Regions from separate parts of the Homo sapiens genome. Here region 2 is linked to region 1. The links are contacts of gene promoters, found by promoter capture Hi-C in blood cells and fetal thymus (Javierre and others, 2016). All regions are on one chromosome and are shown on one strand. Each heading gives the region's core, a stretch centred on a gene start or on the middle of the fragment in contact. The rest is flanking DNA. Distances are from core to core; before and after follow the strand shown. Region 1 holds the start of PRM2 (protamine 2). Region 2 overlaps ZC3H7A (zinc finger CCCH-type containing 7A).

Evidence for each region. Contacts are between HindIII fragments. The CHiCAGO score rates a contact against its expected background, and 5 or more counts as called.
Region 2: a fragment that was not itself captured here is called in contact with the fragment with the promoter of PRM2 in region 1 in 1 of 17 cell types (activated CD4 T cells); the score reaches 5.4 in activated CD4 T cells.

The regions. Positions count from the first base shown.
Region 1 is chr16:11,274,537-11,277,748 of GRCh38, forward strand. PRM2 (protamine 2) reads right to left here and starts at 1,944. Exons shown (of 2, transcript NM_002762.4): 1 at 1,564-1,944; 2 at 1,103-1,401. The coding sequence starts at 1,834. The coding sequence ends at 1,364. All of the region lies in intron 1 of LOC105371082 (a long non-coding RNA gene), which reads left to right. The HindIII fragment of the contact is 881 bases long and covers 1,361-2,241 here.
Region 2 is chr16:11,792,933-11,796,348 of GRCh38, forward strand. All of the region lies in intron 1 of ZC3H7A (zinc finger CCCH-type containing 7A), which reads right to left. Among named protein-coding and RNA genes, the nearest start is that of ZC3H7A, 2.6 kb to the right of the region's middle. The HindIII fragment of the contact is 170 bases long and covers 1,191-1,360 here.

The DNA of each region.
Region 1 (3,212 bases), core at 694-3,193:
TACTAAAAATACCAAAAAAAAAAAAAAAAAAAAATTTGTTTAGCTCCTTCAGCTACTCAGGAGGTTAGGGAGGAGAATCAGTTGAACATAGGAGGTGCAGGTTGCAGTGAGCCAAGATCGCACCACTGCACACCGCCCCAGTGACAAGAGCGAAACTCCGTCTGTTTTTTTTTTTGTTGTTGTTGTTTTGTTTTCAGAAACTCGTTGCTTCCTAAAGATTGGTCATTTCTGAGCACCAGAAATCCATTTGCCAACATATGGATTGGATCTTGCCAGTCTTATCCCCCCAGTCCTCAGTGGCTATGGTTGGCTAAGGTTGGCACTCTCCGAAGTGCCCCCTTCCTGATCCTGGAATCTATGATGTAAGGATTGTGAGATGGGGAGGTTATCTTGGGTTGTCCAGAAAGTCCCTCAGTGCAATCACAAGGGTCCTTGATTTCAGACAGGAGGGAGGAGTGATGCAGCCACAGGCCGAGGAGAGCAGGCAACAAGGATCGGATTCTGCCTGGGTCTCCAGAGGCTTCAGCCAGCACAGGCCTCACACAGCGCAGCCCATTACTCTGCATTCATCTACTCCTTGCCTTTTGCCGTCTCTGTGCTGACCAAGTTGTTGCTGGAGCATGCCAGACCTGTTTCCCACCTCGAAGCTGTGGCCTGCACTGAGCAGTGCCCCCACCTCTGCCCCCACCGTTTACACTTCCAACCACCCAACACTCAAGATGGGTTGTGTTTTTAAACTGTGGCACACAGTAGGCATTTAAATATGGCCACAAGGTGCCTTGGCATCTTTGTGACTTAATTAGGACTCGATCTGTTCTAACCATTTTCTCCTTTCATGAGGTAGGATCAGGTTCTTCACTGGAGGGGGATCCAGACAGACTAATGTGGCCTTTGACACCATGGAAGGATGCACAATAGACAGGACAGCATCATAGGGTGGCCTCCCAGGCACAGTAACCCTCTCCTAGGTGTCCTGAGAGCATCAGAACTCCCGCCCTACCTGCCTCTGAGGAAGGGCTGCAGAGAAGCCTCTACCCGCCCTGGGCGTGAGGGAAGCCAGGTTTGTGTGATTCGTGCAAAGAAAACCCGACAGGCCAGCGAGTGTCTTGTCAAGCTTTATTGGGCAGGTGACTTTTGCTCGTTTCACTCAGATCTTGTGGGCTTCTCGGCGGCAACTCAGGGCTTGAGCATTTGATGTAGGGGAGTTGCTATGGCCTCACTCGGTGTTTCTTGGGCAGGTGACTTTCTCTTAACTTCCAGCTGGGGGCTTGAGCATTTGATGTAGGGGAATTGCTATGGCCTCACTTGGTGTTTCGGGCGACTTTTTCTTAATTTCCAGCTGGGGGTGAGGGGCCCAGGAAGCTTAGTGCCTTCTGCATGTTCTCTTCCTGGTTCTGCAGCCTTTTGGGAAAGAAAGTTCTGGTTGAGGGGGTCACCTAGGGACTCTGGGTGGGGACGGGGGTTAGGGGGCTGGAGCTTTTGTCAGGTGGGGTGGGTCCCCGCCTCCCTCCTGTGCCTGGGGTGGTCAGGGACATGCAGGGCAAGGCGGGGGCGCAGGCAGACCTCTGCGATGCCTCCTCCGGTGCCTGCAGGAGCGTCTTTTGCGCCTTCTGCAGGAGCGATGCTGCCGCCTGTGGATCCGGTGCAGCCTCCTTCGAGAGCAGTGTCTGCGCCTATAGTGAGACTGGCCATGGGTCCTCTCGTAGACCTCGACGTGCTCCGGGCTCAGCCCTTGCTCCTCTTGGCCGTGGTGTCCTTGCTCTTGCCCATGCAACTGCTGCCTGTACACCTCGTGCGAGCGTTCGCTCAGGCTCCTCACGCGGTATCGGACCATGGTGTTGGGAGATCTGGTGGCTCCTGGGCTGAGGCTGCAGTGGGCCCTGGAGTAGGGGAGGAGGGCGGAGGCCTGCCCACCTGCCCTTGGTGTTACTGTTGGTCTGGTCTGCAAGGCTCCCCGGGAGCTTGTATATAAAGGGGGCGCCCACTATGACTCTGCGGCCCCGCCCAGTCCCCACCCTGCCCAGCCTCCTCTGTGAGGGCAGCACAGGGCCAGGGGTCACAACTAGCAGGGCCCTGGCACCCAAGCTGCAGGGCTGGAAGGGCGAGAGACCCCCTTGCCTTGCCTGTAAAGCATGTCCTCTGTCTCTTGCAGTAGGTGAACCATACAGATGGCAGGTGTTTTATTGCCTAATCCAAGCCCTCATCTCCCCAAGCCGGTGGGTGCGCACATTGTCATTTGGAAGCTTCCTTGCCAACTCACTGCTGTGCCACAGCCACCATGTGGAAGGGACTTCCGTGCTTGGATCTCTGTGCACACAGCTTACTGTTAAGATGGCAACAGCAGCAAACAGTTCCCTAATAGCTCCTATGTGCCAAGCATTGATTCATTTATTTCCCATACATTCACTCATTCTCTCTCTCTCTCTCTCTCTCTCTCTCTCTCCTCTTTTTGTTTTGAGGCACTGTCTGTCGCCCAGGCTGGAGTGCAGTTGTGCAATCATGGATCATAGCAGCCTCTACCCCTCCAGCTCAGATGATCCTGCCACCTCAGCCTCCCGAGTAGCTGGGACTATAGGCGTGTGCTGCCACTCCCAGCTAATTTTTTGTATTTTTTGTGGAGATAGATAGGGTTTCACCATGTTGCCCTGGCTGGTCTCACACTCCTGGCCTCAGTGAGCCTCCCATGTCGGCCTCCCAGAGTGCTGGGATTACAGGTGTGAGCCACCACCCTTGCATTCCTCACTCTTACAATCCTCATTTTCTGTGGGGCAAACAGGCATGAAGAAGTTGAGTTGCTCAAGGCCACTCTGCTGAGAAGGCCAGGCCGGGCCAGCATTCAGACGGAGACAGCCTGGTTTTAGTCATACCCTTGGCTCTCCACCTCCTCCCTAGCCCAGGGAATGCTCCCCTCTCCGCCTCCAAAATATTCATCTTCTCCCCTCCCGCTCGGCCTTGCCGGGGCTTCTCATTGAACTTTGATGATCCCATTAAAGTCCGGGATCAGAATCACAGAAACTGCAAAACCAGTTTCCCTTTCATGGAGGGCAGGGAGAATGTGGGAATGTGGCAGATACACAAATTTAAGGACTTGAAGATGCAGAGATCATCCCAGATGATCTGGGTTGGCCCAGTGCAGTCACGAGGGTCCTTAGAAGAGAGAATAGGGAGGCAGGAGGGTCACAGGAAGAGAAACTGGGAGACACCACACTGCT
Region 2 (3,416 bases), core at 26-2,525, 520 kb after region 1:
GCATGCGTGTGCACTTGTGTACACAAAAAGATATGCTCAACAGACGTCATTTAATGCAACTCAGACAAAGCAGAGGGCTTTCACAGGAATGCAGTAGGCCAGGAGTCTGGACATCACTCCAGGGAAAATCTTTCAAGGGGATCTGCTCCACCCAGAACATAATGTATTTAAATACAAATAATATTAAAACAGCCTTACTTACAAGATGTACTAACACAGGACCAAAGTCTCCCAGTGAAGGCAGTGCAGAGGTCACCTAGCACAGCATTTGTACTTTTGCCTAAAAAGGTATCCCTACATTTCAAGTGAAAAATTACAGGCTGGGTGCAGTGGCTCATGCCTGTAATCCCAACATTTTAGGAGGCTGAGGTGGGAGGATCGCTTCAGGCCAGGAGTTTGAGACCAGCCTAGGCAACATAGGAGACCCCATCTCTATAAAAATGTTTAAAAAATTAAATGGGCATGGTGGTGTACACTGTAGTGCCAGCTACTCGGGAGACTGAGGCAGAAGGATTGCTTGAGGCCAGGAGTTTGAGGTCACAGCAAACTATGACTATGCCACTATACTCCAACCTGGGTGTCAGAGCAAGATCCTGTCTCAAAAAAAAGGGGGTGGGGGGGAGGAAAAATGATACATTCCACTCCATATTCAATTCTATCCCCAGACTGAAGCCTGTGTAATATTAATAGCTTTAAAACAACAACTACAAAGTAGTTAAAGTATCATTATTGTCATCCTTAATTGGCAACAGTATATTAACTGGCTCTTGCAACACTTACAAAAGCACCTGGGGCACAAGGCAAGCCTCAGAAGGCTGCAAACCCAGATGATAAGACATTAAAGTTGTTGAAGCTCCTATTGGATACTTTATGAAACAGTTTCTCCCTTTTACTGAAAAGGAAAATTTCATGAGAGACAGTATGCCAAACAACAGCAGGAAGGTAATGTTACATTTTGGCTGGAGTTCTTCCCCCCACAGGAACTATTCACTTTGAAATTGCTGTCAGATTTCAGATTCAGTAAGATACAAAGTCTGTGAAGAGCCTGAAGAGCCTCCCTCTGCGAAGAGGCTCCGCCTGCCAAGAGCCTCCCTCGGCACCCACGCCCTGCTAAGTGGTGGTTCCCAGGAACATCTCATCTTATCTATGACCTCTGTATGGAAGAACTCAACAGGAATATTTCATGTAAAAGCTTCATGACAAATGATTTGCCTGGGGACACTGATACCACCACGATGTACCCAAGACCGCCAGCCGATGAAGTCTTCCCAACCAAGTAACCCCAACACACTCTCACCTTCTTACCAAATGTGCCAGATTAATGTCCTGCTCCAAATTCAGGCCTTTTCAGAAAACATAAAGCTTCCCGCTTTCTATTTGTGAAAAAGTAACCTCGTTGCTTTACATAAACGAAAATCACCTCATTTAATATGCCTTTTGTGTACATGTAAATTAAAACGTTATCACTAGCAGTAATTTTTAAACTTCTGGATTAATACTTTAATACTTCTCTCCTCCTTAAAAATTATCTAAAATTTCTTCTTGATTTGCCAACACCTCACACTTTAAGTAATTTTCATAAGGATTCTGGAGAAAAATATTTTCACTAGAAAAAAAACAAAACAAAACAGAACACTTCCAGACGTTATCCAGAAGACAAAAGTTTGCTCACATCATACTGTCTCTAGAAAGCCCTTTCTAGGGTATCTGTGGCAACAGGATACAGACGTCTTTTGTTTCTTTCTTCCTTTACTGAAATGCTCAAAACTTTCCAACAGTCACTCTCACCATCCCTGGAGTTGAGAGTTTCTATAATTGATTCTCTTCCACTTACAATGACAATTTAACCCACCCCAACTGGCAGGTTTTAAAATCAGTCAAAACTAAGAATTGTGGAACAATGTGGCTGACAAGCCACCATTCTTATTTGCAAAAACTGACAGAATCTGGGGAATGGGAAGGAAAGAGGGTGTAGGTCTGTGTAAAACCCCCAACGAAAAGTCACAGTAACATGAAGAAAGGCAGGAATTCTCCACTTCGTTTGGATGGCAGAAAATCAACGGGCTCTTTGTAGAATAAACACACACACACAAACACACACGCACAAATATTGATAATATTGAGCCTCAACAACTCATGATCTCATCCTGAGACAAACCTCATACAACTATTTGTAGCCTCCAGCATACAGCAGATAGGGAAAATTTTTCAACAGGGAAAATACTGTCCATTAACTTGAATTATTCTGCAAATTAGGACAAGACCCATTGTGCAATTCAGTTCAACAGTTTGGCTCAGTATGAGAAGGAAGAGGCAGTGGATTCTTTGAGAGCTTAAGGGAAGGAGGCCACATGCCATCAGAGAAGCAGGAAAGATAAGCAGATAGACATGTCTTCTCAGGGCCACCACCCATTCAGATGCCCCAGCTGCGCGCTGTCCAGTCGAAATATTGTACAAAATATATTACACAAAATAAGCCATACGTGTCATTGTATGTATGTATGTATGTACGCATGTATGTGGAGAGGGAGTCTCGCTCTGTTGCCCAGGGAGGAGTGCAGTGGCACAATCTCGGCTCACTGCAACCTCTGCCTCCCGGTTCAAACGATTCTCCTGCCTCAGCCTCCCCAGTAGCTGGGATTACAGGCGCCTGCCACCACGCCTGGCTGATTTTTGTATTTTTACTAGAGACGGGGTTTCTCCATGTTGGCCAGGCTGGTCTCGGAATTCCTGACCTCAGGTGATCCACACACCTCGGCCTCCCAAAGTGCTGGGATTACAGACGTTGAGCCACCCCGCCCGGCCCGTATATGTCATTTTAAATTTCCAAATAGCCACACTAAAAAAAGAGAAAAAGAAAAGCAGTGAGATTAACTTTTGTTTTTTTATTTGTTTGTTTTGAGACAGTGTCCCAGGCTGGAGCACAAAGGCACAATCTCAGCTCACCGAAGCCTCAATCTCCTGGGCTCAAGGGATTCTCCCACCCCAGCCTTCCGAGTAGCAGATTCTCCCACCTCAGCTTCCCGAGTAGCTGACTACCGGCGTGCGCCACCACGCCCAGTTAATTTTTTGTATTTTTTGTAGAGACAGGGGTCTCACTATGTTGCTGAGGCTGGTCTTGAACTCCTGCACTCAAACGATCCTCCTGCCTCAGCCTCCCAAAGTTTTGGGATGACAGGCATGAGCCACTGCATCCTGCCAAGATTAATTTTAATGATCTATTTTCGTTAATCCAATTTGTCCCAAACATGACCATCTCAACATGCATTTAAGTATAAAAGATTACCAATGACATCTTTTACTTTCTTTCTCATCCGAAGTTTTTAAAATCAGATGTACGTTTCACAGCTGGGACCGCAACTGAAACTGGCCCCATTTCGTGGGCTCCATCGTCCCAAACGGCGGGGGGTCAGTGG